Linked DNA regions of Homo sapiens: all the other regions are linked to region 3. Evidence: promoter capture Hi-C in human tissues and cell types (Jung and others, 2019). All regions are on one chromosome and are shown on one strand. The core of a region is centred on a gene start or on the middle of the fragment in contact, and the rest is flanking DNA. Distances in the headings are between cores, read along the strand shown.

The links. Contacts are between HindIII fragments. The study calls those that stand out against the background at their distance.
Region 1: a fragment that was not itself captured here is called in contact with the fragment with the promoter of FGFR4 in region 3 in 1 of the 25 tissues and cell types used here (dorsolateral prefrontal cortex).
Region 2: a contact is called between a fragment that was not itself captured here and the fragment with the promoter of FGFR4 in region 3, in 1 of the 25 tissues and cell types used here (lymphoblastoid cells).

The regions. Positions count from the first base shown.
Region 1 is chr5:177,290,071-177,294,746 of GRCh38, reverse strand. NSD1 (nuclear receptor binding SET domain protein 1) reads right to left here. Exons shown (of 23, transcript NM_022455.5): 22 at 2,589-2,793; 23 at 1-915. Among named protein-coding and RNA genes, the nearest start is that of RAB24, 11 kb to the left of the region's middle. The HindIII fragment of the contact is 5,839 bases long and covers 1-4,676 here.
Region 2 is chr5:177,234,735-177,239,703 of GRCh38, reverse strand. NSD1 (nuclear receptor binding SET domain protein 1) reads right to left here. Exons shown (of 23, transcript NM_022455.5): 6 at 3,759-3,883; 7 at 1,197-1,467. Among named protein-coding and RNA genes, the nearest start is that of RAB24, 66 kb to the left of the region's middle. The HindIII fragment of the contact is 9,664 bases long and covers 1-4,969 here.
Region 3 is chr5:177,085,122-177,089,415 of GRCh38, reverse strand. FGFR4 (fibroblast growth factor receptor 4) reads right to left here and starts at 2,501. Exons shown (of 18, transcript NM_213647.3): 1 at 2,339-2,501. RefSeq lists an enhancer at 1,985-2,435, silencers at 2,131-2,590, 2,841-2,890 and a promoter at 2,401-2,620. The HindIII fragment of the contact is 26,682 bases long and covers 1-4,294 here.

The sequences.
Region 1 (4,676 bases), core at 1,625-4,124, 200 kb before region 3:
CTATGAGATCCATCACCAAAGCAGCTCTATTTTTTGACTGAGTATTCTGGTCCACAGGCCTCAGTGCTTTTTCTTTAGCTACAAGGGTCTGGACCACAGCTGATAGTACTTTCTCAGGAGGTGGGAGTCTCTGGGACAAAGAGGCATGGGGTTTGTCAGTAGGCCTGTCTGAAGTCTGGGGTTTGGGACTGCTAGTAATGAGCAGTCTGTCTGGCGGCGGAAGTCTCAGGCCAGTGGGAACTGAGGTTTTCTCCAGTGACTGGGGCCTTGGGCTGGCAGCACCTATGGATTTATCCAGCCTTGGGTCAGCCGTCCCCAGAGGTCTTTCCAGTGGTTGGGACCTGACTGAGGGTGAGGAGCTTGGGCTGGTCACTGGAGAGGGTTTGTCGCTTAGCTGGGGTCTTGGTCCTGCCACTGCTGGTGGCCTGTCCAGTGGCCTCTGGCTGGAAACCAAGGATTGGGATTTGGTCCCTGACCCAGCGAGGTCTCTGACCTTATCTAAAGGCTGGGGCCTGGAGTCAGTTCTCTCAAGAGGTCTTTCAGGTAGCAATGGCCTCTGACAAGTCCCTGCCAGAGCTTTTTTGGAGAGCGACAGCATCTGGTTGGTGTCAGCAGGAGGTTTATCTGACATTTTGGGTGCCTGAGCAGCCATTCCTGTTGATTGCTCTGCCAGGTGAGTGCTTGGCCCTGGAGGCAGCGGTACTGGGGGAGGCACATACTCACGGATCTCCCCAGGTTCCAGAGGATTGGGCCCACAGGGGTCATGCTCAGTACAAGACAGACGCCCATCCAGTTTGGAAATGAAAAGCATCCCTTCTCGATGCTGCTTACAAAAGGAGCTGGGGCACATCTCACAGAAGGAGGCTGCTTCCTTCCCGCAGATGTCACACTGATGCCACGGACATTCCCATTTCCCTGAAAACACAGAAGTAAATCAAAAGTTTAGGAAAAAAGAGATACATATCACATGGGCCAAGGCTATGCTACAGTCCGAAGGTGTGGATGATGACCTTCCTTCACACTGTCCCTGCTTCAGAGAGCTTATGCCACTCACCAGCCACCTCTTGCCCCAGAATTCCAGCTTCTTTTTGTGCACAGAATACATAAAGTAACAGCGAATTATCAAATAGCAACTACTATCAACTAAATATACAAGCAGAAGAGTAAATTGGTATTTCTATGACTATTTCCAGCAAGGAGGTGAGGGGGGGGCGGGGGTGGGGACAACAAAAAGTTTCTTTTACATGAAACTTAAGATATTACTTTTATATTTTTGCAATCTCCATTTGTACTATACAGCTTTTAAATAAGCAACTCAAAGAGAAATATCCTGGTGATTTAGATTCCTGCTTATTTGCTATTAACAGTAATAGAAAAGATATAAAATCATGAAAAATGGAAGATTTACCTTTGCTCTATTTTAAGTCTTGAGATCAGCACAGCACGTTATATGTTGTTCACATGGAATCAGTAGAAAAGACCCAAAGCTGACCTAAGCTTTTACCTGCCTCCCCACATTTCATGAAACCTGAGGGTCTTGACCAGGGACAGTGTTTCCACCTTCAAATCAACTACACCAGCTCCCACTCCTGGCACACAGGCAAGATTGGTTCTATCATAGCCTGCGCCAGTGACGACCCTGAGCAGTTGATTCTGAAACAATTCTACTTCCTGGTGCTGACAGGTCAATGTGATGGCCTTGCCCTCATCCTACCTCAGTTTCTTTTATTTCATGACCCTGGCCAATATACAGTGAAGGAAAGCCAATTTGGGGACAAATTCCTTTTACTTATACCCTAAAGTTCTTAACGTTCTGCAACTCTTGGAAGCAGGTCACTAGTAATGTATAATCTCCTCACCCTGGAATGGCTCCCTACTGGTTTCTCTTTTTTGTTCATTAAAATAGATGGCATATCCAAATCCCTAAAATTCTCTAACCCCAAATCACTACTCAAAGGTTCTCAATTTCTTCAACTACAAATTTCCTGGGTACCACATCCACCTGAGCAGCTTTCTCATGTATTAACTGATACAACCAAATCTCCTTTAGAGGAAAAAAGTCTACTCTGCATGGGGGGAGACTGCACTAGGCGTAGGGGAGCAAGGTAGGAAGTGCTAAAAGGGTGGCAATCCATCTCTCACTGACTAGAACCACCTAAAGGCTTTACTATCTCAATCTTTCTTTCTCTAGAAAGGCAACATGATTTAATAGTCTTGGAGTCAAAAACCCAGCTCTCAATCCAGCTCCTCTATCTATGTGTGAAAGATCACCTCCCCAATCCTCACTCTGTTTCTTCACATGCATTATGGAAGAAAACCAACCATTATGGGCTGCTGGGGGAATGAAATAAACATGACTGTAAGTAAAGGACCTGAAACACAGCAAGTGCACCGCTGTCCCATTCTTCATAACTAAGAATTCTAAGCCTTTGCTTTCATTATTTCCAAAATAAGAAAATAGACCATACCCCTCAAAATTATGCATGGAAAGACCAAATGGCACTTTCTTCAAGGCTGATGCAAATGGCATGAGACCCTGAGTATGATGGAGAGAACGAGTAGCGGTACAAATGGATTTTGGCACCAACCTGCTGGTCGCTTGGTCAGATTGAGACAGTCTGCGTGGTAAACTTTTGGGCAGCCTGGTTTCTTGCAGGAGACGAGCTGGCCAGCATCCCCACAACTAAAACACTCATCTTCTCGCTCCTTTGTGATTTCACCCTGGGTCCTGCGCTTTCCCTGTTGCTTCTTCTTGAATTTCTTTGACTTTTCTTCCGTGGCAATGGGTTGATTCTACAGGTCAGATATTGAACAGTCAGCATTCTGTGAACACATTAGTACCAATCTTAACCGGGTTAACTACCCTCTCTGAGCCTCATTCTCTTCTCTGGGAAAAGAGATTGTCATGAAGATAAAATGCAGGAAAGGTACCTGGTACATCACAGATACGTAGCAATAATTTTTGTATCAACTACTCCTGCCACCTGAACAAAACAGAAGACAAAAATCTTTGTGTTTTTGCTGATCCATAAGGCTGGTGTTAAATGACATGCCTTTCATAAGTTTTATTAGTTAATTAATTTATTTATTTTTCAAGACGGAGTCTTGCTGTGTTGCCCAGGCTGGAGTGCAGTGGCGCGATCTCGGCTCACTGCAACCTCCGCCTGCTGGGTTCAAGCAATTCTCCTGCCTCAGCCTCCTGAGTAGCTGGGATTACAGGCGCCCACCACCACTCCTGGCTAATTTTTGTATTTTTAGTAGAGACGGGTTTTCAGCATATTGGTTAAGCTGGTCTCGAACTCCTGACCTTGTGACCCACCCGCTTTGGCCTCCTAAAGTGCTAGGATTACAGGCGTGAGCCACCGCACCTGGCCAAAGTTTCACTTTTATATTCGTCTACTTTCAGAACTAAACTAGACTTCTGTGTGTGGGTACACATGCCTATTTCTCGTTCATTCAACAAAGCATAACTGAACTTACTATAAGCAATGTGTTAAGACACAAAAAAGTTAATTCATGGTCCCTGCCGTCAATAAGACTACACATCAAGTCAAATTAGCTTCAGGTCCACCACTCCCAAGGCAGACCCTGGAGCAGCCAGCAGATGTTCTCTCTTTGTTCCCTGCAGCCCACACTTGGTCACCAAATCATCTTATCACATTCTTCATTTTAACCCAGAAACATCCAGGACCAATCTGTAAGGCTTAATGGAGGTCCACCCTATTCTGACAGACCAGTATCTACTAAGAGCACACAGTGACCTCTCTAGCATCTACCTCTGACTGACTCCTGTGAAATGCTATCCCATGCAGACATCAAGGATGCTGAAACTGACATCCGCACTACACTTAATACCATTAAGTACAGGTTAAACTGAGTTACTATTTTAATTTATAGGAAACAAGTCAACATCTTAAGGAACAACACCGTTAAACCAACAAAACTAAACAAAAAGCACAATAAAATCCAGTATAATATAGAGGTGATTCTCCTTATTTAACAAGATTAAAAAATGATCATTGAGTGCTCTTCATTTCTGGCCAGGCGCAGTGGCTCACGCCTGTAATCCCAGCACTTTGGGAGGCTGAGGCAGGTGGATCACCTGAGGTCAGGAGTTTGAGACCAGCCTGGCCAACATGGGGAAACCCCATCTCCACTAAAAATACAAAAAATTAGCCAGGTGTGGTGGCAGGGGCCTGTAATCCCAGCTACCTGGGAGGCTGAGGCAGGAGAATCACTTGAACCTGGGAGACGGAGGTTACAGTGAGCCGAGATCATACCATTGCACTTCAGCCTGGGCAACAGAGCGAGACTCCGTCTCAAAAAAAAAAAAAAAAATTTATTTACTCTTTTCTTATTGGCTTCTATGTTAATTTGCATTTTTCAGTTCTTAATGTTGAGCTTCACAATCAAAAAGGCATATGGAACATACTCAATTGAAGTCACTATATAGTTTATTTTGTATCAAAATTAAACTGCAATTTTCACTGTGCTGTTACTTATGATACAGAAATCTTGAATTATCCAGATGTTCATCTAGTATGTCCATCCATTATATAAAAAAATTAAGACAGTCACTAAAAATGATCAGCAAGGACTTTAAAAAATAATAATATAAGGGCCGGGCACAGTGGCTCACGCCTGTAATCCCAGCACTTTGGGAGGCTAAGGCGGGC
Region 2 (4,969 bases), core at 1-2,500, 150 kb before region 3:
ATTTTTAAAAAATCTGTATACCACACAAAATGAATCTCAATGTTTTTGATGTTTTCCCCGTCATCTTATGGGAAGAGGCAGGATGGTAATTTGCTTATTATAAAATATTAGTAAACAAAACAAGTAAACAGTTTTCAATGCAAGCACCAACTAATGTGAGGGATGTGTGTGTGGTGACTTTAACTCACAAAATCACTAAGGGAGAAGTCAGAAGGACGGAACTGCCTTTATAACAACTGATTGTTGGTGAGGATAAAATAAGGAGAAGTGGAGTGAAATAGAACTTGGATCATGGTCATAAATGGACAAAGATTATAGTTTCTGCTCTGCCCCTAAGTAAATAAAATTCAATAGGTAAAAGATAATTCATAGGATCACTCAAGAATAATATAAAAGAGCTGACTTAATAGAGTTTTGGCACATAGTAGGTACTGAAATAATAACTATCTTTACTGTTCTTTCAAAAATCTTTTTTATTATACCCAACTAGTTTAAGCACAATTGGAATCGTTTCTTTAAGGAATAACATCAAAAGCTACTGTTGATAATGTAAAAAAGTTATATCCAAAATTTAAAGGGGTACAGAAAAGAGGATTCTTGCCATTCCTTGACTGACTATAATATTCAATAGTTACAAGGTGAATTAGAGACAATATGTTTAGATCCAACTCTCCCCAGGTGATATATAAAGAATGATCAAGTGAGAAGTAACTGGTAATTAACTTCTAATGAACTGGTAATTACTATGTTGTCAGGTATATAACATTACACATTAATACATTATGATCTCCATTTATAGATGAGGAAACAAGTTCAGAGATTAAACAACTTCCCAAGTAACACAAGGATTGGTGGAGCCAGCACTTGAAGCATAGTGCTTATTCCACTAATGTGCAGTACTCCTCTTGAAGCCCTGTTATCCTGGTTGTTAATTTACACAGTGGCTGATCAACAATCATGAAGAGCAACACTGGAGCAAGGAGCATAGTTATTAAAAATACATCTTCTTGATAGTGTGCCACAGTTCATGGTTAGTAACTATATCTAATTAACCATCATTTTAAGTATTTCCCAGGACAAAAGGGGGTAGTTTATTGTATATAGATACAATGTTGGCTTTACATCAAAACATACTAAAATCTCCTGCTTCCTCTAATCATATCTGCTCAAATACTGAGACCCCAACCCCACCTTACCTGGCGTTTTAACTAGCAATTCCTCAGACTCAAGGGCAGGCCGTGGAGAGACTTCCGGAGCCACAGGCACAGACAAGGTCAGCTGCGGCAACTCAGCATGTCCACCTCCAAGTTCTGACTGAGCCAAGGGGCCCTCCAAAAACGGAGCCTCCCTTTCAAGAACTGGAGGCTCTTCTTTGGTTGAAATCAAAGAATTCTCGTCCACCTGCTTGTTCTGAGCACTAGATCGACCTCGGGCTAGAAGGCTTTCCTCTTCACAGCGGGAACTTACCTAAGAACAAAAAATAAAAATAGAGTCCACAGGCCAAAATTGTTGTAATTTAAGTGTCAAAAAGAATAACACACTTTAAAAGGAATGAAATTCTGACAAAGGCTACAAAAAGTGGATGAACCTTGAAGACATTATGTATGCTAAGGGAAATTACTTAAGACACAAAGAACAAATATCGTATGATTTCAAGTATATGAGGTATCTAGAATAAGAAAATTCTTGAGACAGAAAATAGAATGGCAATTGCCAGGGGCTGAGCAGAAAAGGGAGTTATTGGTTAATGGGTATTGATTTTTAATTTGGAAAGATGAAAAAAATTATCGAGATGGATGGTGGAGATGGTTGCACAACAATCTAACTGTGCTTCATGCTACTGAACTGTACACTTAAAAATGGATAAAATAGGCTGGGCGTGGTGGCTCACGCCTGTAATTCCAGAACTTTGGGAGGCCAAGGCAGGCAGATCACGAGGTCAGGAGATCAAGACCATCCTGGCTACCATGGTGAAACCCTGTCTCTACCTAAAAATGCAAAAAATTAGCCAGGTGTGGTGGCGGGCACCTGTAGTCCCAGCTACTCGGGAGGCTGAGGCAGGAGAATGGTGTGAACAGGAGAGGCAGAGCTTGCAGTGAGCTGAGATCACACCACTGCACTCCAGCCTGGGCAACAGAGTGAGACTCCATCTCAAAAAAAAAAAAAAAAAAAGATAAAATAATAAAATTTACATTATATATATATATTTTTTTAACCAAAATTAAATGAAGTTGACTGAGATACACTGAAGCTATAATATTGATAAGTCCACAACAATAATTCAAAAGCAGGGGAAAGAGACTGCTCTAATGTCTCCAATTAAAACAACTACTAATGAACTCCTTAATGTTACAATTGGTAATTAATGGGAAAGAAAGAAGCACTTATTCTGCCTTTCAAGTATTTCAGGACAATAACAGAGTCCAATTAATGAAAGAGACTATCAGTTAATAAAAATAGAGAAAATAATAAAATCTGAAAGTCTTCATTTTGTAACCTCTAATAAAATTATTGATATAGGTAAAGATCTTCAACTGGGGTTTTCAAAAAACCATCAGGGAAGCTGGGCATGGTGGCCCACACCTGTAATCCCAACACTCTGGGAGGCTGAGGCAGAAAGATCACTGGAGCCCAGGAATTCGAGACCAGCCAGGGCAACATAGTGGGACACCGCCTCTACAAAAAAAATGTTGTCAAAAATTAGCCAGGTGTGGTAGTGTGCACCTTTGGTCCCAACTACTCAGGAGGCTGAGACGGAAACATTGCTTAAACCCAGGAGGTCAAGGCTGCAGTGAACCGTGTTCGTGCATCTCTGCACTCCAGCTTGGGCAAGACACTGTCTCAATTTTAAAAAAGAAAGAACAAACTGTCAGGGAATGGCTGATGGGAATAAAACATTTTTTAACCCTCTAATGTACAATATATTCCACATTATCATCTCTGATATAGTCTAGCTAAAAATGTTCAACTTTCAATCTATCAAACTGATAGGTTCTATCTTCCATTTGACAGAGAACAGGAGATAGAGAAAACAATCTAAGTGACACCTATGAGGAAGCAATTACACAAATACAGAAAGTAGATGACTTTATATGTCACTCTCTTATAGACATGATCATGATCATGAAAAAAGGGATTGTTCTGAATTCAAAGTGATTTGAGAACCATAACAACCAGTTACAATGAGCAGTCCTAGATTGAGTCCTGGTATGAATAATCCAAAGGTAAAGGTTAGGGGATAATTGATGAAATTTGAAAGACAGTTGATGTCAGATAAACAGATCTTATATAAGATGTAAATATGTTAAATTGATTATAAAGGAAAATGTTCCATTTTTTAACTACATATTAAACTATGTAGGGGTAGAATGTCAAGATGTCTCTATTTCATTTTAAAAAACTGAGTTGAAAAATAAGACAAATAAGATATATTTACTTTTGAAATTAGGGTCAGACTATATATATTTCACTTTATAGCCTATATTTTTACTTAAGATTAAATCATAACAATATTCCTAAGTCATTACTCTTTGAAGGCAAAGAGGGAAAAATATATACATAAATAAATACAATATGTAGATTCATTTATATATTTCCTGAATAACCACTAAATCCTAAGTACTGTGCTAGAAGCTGAGAATAAAAAACAAGATCTCAGTTAAGGAAATTATTGTTTCATGAAGATAAAGTATGACATTGAAGATAAAATTGCAGTTTCCTAAGGACCAGTGAAAGTTTGCTGAAATTTTGCAACATACCTTGTGCACCTGCTCCTGTACCTTCTTTTGTTTTTTCTTAGGAGCAAATATCTGATCATATTCTTCTGTATATTCCAAAAGCCACTTGCTTGGCTTCCTAAGGCGTTTCTTCTCTGACCGCACAGCTAAAAGATGATAAACAAATTCAACATTAATCAAAAAGCTTCAGGAAAACCCACTGTTTTTATGAGACCATCTGATACTCCCAAAAGTAACCAGATGGGAAACCACATAGTAAAATAGACTATGGCTTAAGATGCAAGAGGCACAAAATGGCTTATGTTTTCTCATATGCAAAAGGAGCTGGGGGGAGACAAAAGGACTTGTGTTACCTTATATACACAAATAATAGAATATATGTGGCCCATCCAAAATTAAGGAAAAGGTTAAATTTAAAGCCAGGTCTTATAGTCACTGACACCTGTACATATAAAGCTAATATATACCTAACAAAAATGTAGCATCTAGATCAGGTAAATAGGTAAAATACATCTTGAGTTACAGGCTAAGTATGCCTTATCTGAAACGCTTGGGATCAGAAGTGATTTAGAATTTTTCATATTTTGTAATATTTGCATATATATATAATAAGTTATCTTGGGGATGGGACCCAAATTGAAATACCAAACTCATTTATGTATTACACACATCTTCTATACACATAGCCTGAAGGTAATTTTACAAAATATTTATTTTCTACATTATACAAAGTTTGTGTACAGTGAACCATAAGAAAGCAAAAGTGTCATTATCTCAGCCACCATGTGGAATATCTGTGGTTGTTTGGCATTACCATCATTCCTGTCTCTGAATTTATGTGCTACTGACAGGCAAACATTTTCTTATACTTATTCACACATAAGTACTTAACAGTAAAAATATGACATACCATTAATACAGTGAAAAAGTAATGTGTGTTCAGGGTAGCTAAGCAGCACAGTAGTATCACGAGAATACATGTATCAGCTGATAAAAAAACAGTAATAACAATGTCGGGCTTTGTGTCTCCATCTATGATGCTGTGTTTTGATTAAAAGGTTACTGTATACTGTTTTATTTTATAAGGTAAGAAGAAACATCATCAGAAGCAATTAGGAACCAGGAAGTCCTCTAGGAATGAAGAGGCATTCTGTGGGATAGCTTTTTAAAATGTTTCCTCTAAAGTCATCTGTCTCATTAACAACGAGTATTGTCTAGAAGGATCTCATTTT
Region 3 (4,294 bases), core at 1,252-3,751:
TGCAGACTGGAACCAGCTCTGTAGTAGCCAGAGCCTAAGGCCTCCCCACGGTAGGTTGTGCAAGGGGTCTGGGCTGGGCTTCCTGCTCTCCCTGAGTCCTGCTGGGACCCTGGCACACGTTCACAGAAAGCAGTTTTGGGATTCTTTTTTGGAGGGAAGCAGAGAACGGAGACATATCTTCTGCATGCTCTCGGCACACATAATTTCTTTTTTGCTAAATAAATGAATTGATTGCAGAAGAGCCAAAAAAGAAAGTGAAAAATGACACAAGGTCAAACTTCAGCATCTGGATGGCATCTGATCCGATCCCCACTCCTTACAGCATTACTGACATTTCCAGGGCTGGGTGGTCACAACTGACAAGGCGGCCCCTTCCGTGGCAAGCAGGACCGCGACCCTGGATACCTCTGCTTGTTATGCACCAACTCCATCTGAGGCACACACGGTTTTGTAAAGAATACAGACCCTAATTTTCCATCTGCCAGAGCCAAGTTCAAATCCTGACTCTCACCAACTTGTAATTCCTTGTCTCTGTCTCTCTCTGGCTTACTATCCTCATAGGACTGTTTTGAGGATAAAAGAGAGAACGTGCGTCGGCACGCAGAGTGTTGGAATGTTCTCCTCCCTGTGCCCGGCCCTAGAACGGTTAACCTGTTGCCCTGGGTCTGCCCTTAGCCAGTCACCTCTGGTTCGGATGCTGTTACTGTCAGGCTGTGATGTACACACACCCCAGCTGGCTATCCTCTTCCAAATGCTACCAAGGACGCCTCTGTTCCCCAAAATAGAACACTCAGAACTGAGTCTCAGCTGGGACAAAGGAATCGGTGACCACTGCAGTCCTAGGGGCCTATGGGTGGCACTGGTGTCTCTGGATCTACCCTGCGTGGGAAGCCTATCACACCTCCTCCTCCTTGGTCACTGCCACTCCACTTCCAGTCCATCTGGCTTCCCCTGCCCCTTCTCAAGGCAGGTCATGGCCATCTCTTGCATGGGCCTCTGGAAACATCCTCTCCCTCGGCTCTTCAACCTTCATCTTCCAGCAGAGTTTTAAAAAACTACAAGTCGGCTGGGCGCGATGGTTCACACCTGTAATCCCAGCACTTTGGGAGGCCGAGGTGGGCGGATCACGAGGTCAGGAGATCGAGAACATCCTGGCTAACACGGTGAAACCCCGTCTCTACTAAAAATACAAAAAATTAGCCGGGCGCGGTGGCGGGCGCCTGTAGTCCCAGCTACTCGGGAGGCTGAGGCAGGAGAATGGCGCGAACCCGGGAGGCGGAGCTTGCAGTGAGCCGAGATCGCGCCACTGCACTCCAGCCTGGGCGACAGAGTGAGACTCCGTCTCAAAAAAAACAAAATAAAAAAATAAAATAAAATAAAAAAACAAACAAAAAAACCTGCAAGTCTGCCATGTCATGCCCCCCAGCTTGCAAGCCCTTAATGGCTACCTGTGCCCAGCAGGATCCAGCTCAACATCCTAGGGCTCCCTCTCTGCCGCTGCCTATCTCTTTGGTCACACCGTCTGCCCCTTCAGGAGCGCTGAAGCCATTGGCTTTCAAAACTGGGCACATGTGCTCTCTTGCCCATCCCTCTGTGCCCCTCATTGCTCTTCTCTACCTGACTCAGATACTGCTGTCTCTGGCCCACCTCAACTCTCGAATCCAGTCGGATCCTCCTTGGTAAAACTCCCTACCAAGCTCGGCTTGGCAGGGAGGGCAGCTCTTTGGGTACACAGCTTGGGCTGGGAGTGGGTGGGGAGGCCCGGGGAGTTTATTCCTACCCCAGGCTGCCCTGATATCAGAGTCCTTAGTCGAGTCACCCATGGCTGCTGACCGCTGACCGACCACCCCCCACGTGGGAATGGAGGGCCTGCCTTAGGCATCAGACAGTCCTGGGTTCTCCTTCAGCCTCCCGCACTCGCGCTGGAGGCCCCCGGGCACTAAGTGACTGAACTTTTCGGGGCCTCAGGTCCCTCATCTCTGCCGCCGGCGCGAAGACAGCCGCAGGGACAAGCGCGCTTGTCCTCCCCCACCCTTGCCGGGCCAGCCTGGGGGGAGGTGCGAATCAATGGGTCCCGAGGGTAGCTGCACAGGGCCAGCCTGCCCCCGCCTCGGTGGGCAATGAGTAACCAGCTCCGCGGCCGGGGTGCTCTTTGGACGGAGCGGGACAAAAGGCCCTGTGTGCACTGCGGGTTACTGATTTACCGCCCCCTCCACCCCCTGCCGCCCGGCGGACGCCCAGGTCCCCTGCGCCGGGAGGGGCAGTCCCCGTAGCCCCGCCGCCTCTCGCCCCCTGGCGGCTGGGAGCGCAGCCCGGGCCCACAAGGGTTCCGGCTCACCTCGAGCCTGCGTGACTCCGCGCCCAGCACAGGGTCCTGCTCACCTGGCTCCTCCTCACCTGGCTCCTCCGCCGCCTCACTCCCAGCTCCAGCCGGCCGCGACCCCTGCACGCGGCAGGGTCCGCAGACAGCCCGAGCGCTCCTCGGCCGGGAGCGAGGAATGTACCCGCGACGGCGGCGTGGCCGCGAGCGGCCCACCTCCTGTCCCACCCCGCCCCTCGGGCCCGCCCCCTCCTGCTCGGGCCCGCCCCTCCTTCCACGCCCCCCCCCCCCCCACCCGGGCCCGCCCACCTCCTGCCACACCCCCTCGGGCCCGCCCCGCCTAGACCAGCTCGAGCCGGAGAGAGGTGTGGCCAGGGGTGGCCAAGATCCCCGCCCACCTGGAGAGCCCCGCCCCCGACCCAGTCAGCCCACTCCCGGGACCCCGCCCCAGCCTATACACACACCCCTACACGCAACCCCCCTATACACACCCCATTCAGGCTCCGCCTCTTTCGCCCCACCCAGGCCCCAGGCCAGGCTCCTAAATTCTAGTCTACTACCCAGCTCTACTCCTTGCTTTTCACCCTTCAGGGAATGCCTGGCTCCCCTGTCTTCTGCGCAGTGCCGTGCAGCGGATAGGAGAACCCCTTCCTTCTGCTCCCTCATTTGTTCCCTGCGCAACCTGCGGAGTGATACTTACAACACAAATCTGACTGTGTCAGCCACTCCCTTAAATTTTCCTATAGATTCCCATAGCTCTTTATACATAGATTGCCATGACCCACGCCTCCTGGCTCCCACCCTGCTACTCCTGGGCAGTTTCACGTACCATTCTCTCTTCCTGGAATGGCCCTTGGTCTGGTTAATTTCATATTATTCTCAGCTCACTTCCTTCAGGAAGCCCTCTGGACTTGCAAGCTCCTCTTAGATGACGTCTCTACTGTGAGGATGGAGAAAGAAACAGGGTGAAGTGGTTCAGAGCACAGACTACAGGGCTGGACGTCATAGGCCCAGCTCTCAGCACCATCACACAAGGCCTCAGTCTTCACTGTCCTTTCAGTAAAACAGGCAAATGATAGTCTCACCCACAAGAGGTTGTTGCAAAAAGTAGACATGTTAGCAGTATGTGTAAGCCTGGCATGCAGCGCTTGCTTTGTAATACTAGCTGTAATTATTTAGGACCTGTTATTTCTTCAGCACGCTTGCCAGAATTGTAACTGAACAGTTAATTATGTAAATAGCTGTGGAATGGCCGGGCACAATGACGGGTGCCTGTAGTTCTAGTTACTAGGAGACTGAGGTAGGAGGACAGCTTGAATTCAGGAGTGTGAGGCCAGCCCTGGCAACATAGTTGCCCTGTCTCTATTTTTCAGTAGAGGAACTGTGTCCTCAGACCTCACCATTAGAGTTCAAGTGTCTGGCATACAGTAGGTGCTCCCAGATAGCTCCGTGCCCACCTGGCTCATGTTTGCCTCACCTGTAAGCACTTCTCTCCTGAGCATCTAGACTGTGGCCAAACCAGGAGGCCAGGCAGCCTCTGATCTCTGCCCATCCCTCACCTGAATCTCAAGCCTTCTCCTTCTCTTAAGGCACCTTGAGAGGAAGGGAAATGGGCTGGGTGCACCTGTGGTCCCAGCTACTTGGGAGGCTGAGGCCAGAGGATTGCTTGAGCCCAGGAAGTCGAGGCAGCAGTGAGCCGTGATCGCTCCACTGCACTGTAGCCTGGGCAACAGGCTATGGAGCGAGACCCTGTCTGAGGCTCAGGTCCTGGTTGTCCCCTCTAGCTAGTGTAGACCCTGTCTTAAGAAGCAACTTCCTTTCTCATTGTTACGCAGGCAAGTCTAGTTCTTTCCACCCTCACTCCCAAAGGGATAGTGGCATATCTTTGCATAACTGTAAGGCCCATTAAAGAGACTTAAAATTGTTTTTTTCTTTTTCTTCTTAAGCGAAAGAATGGTCTCCTCCCAAAGATAA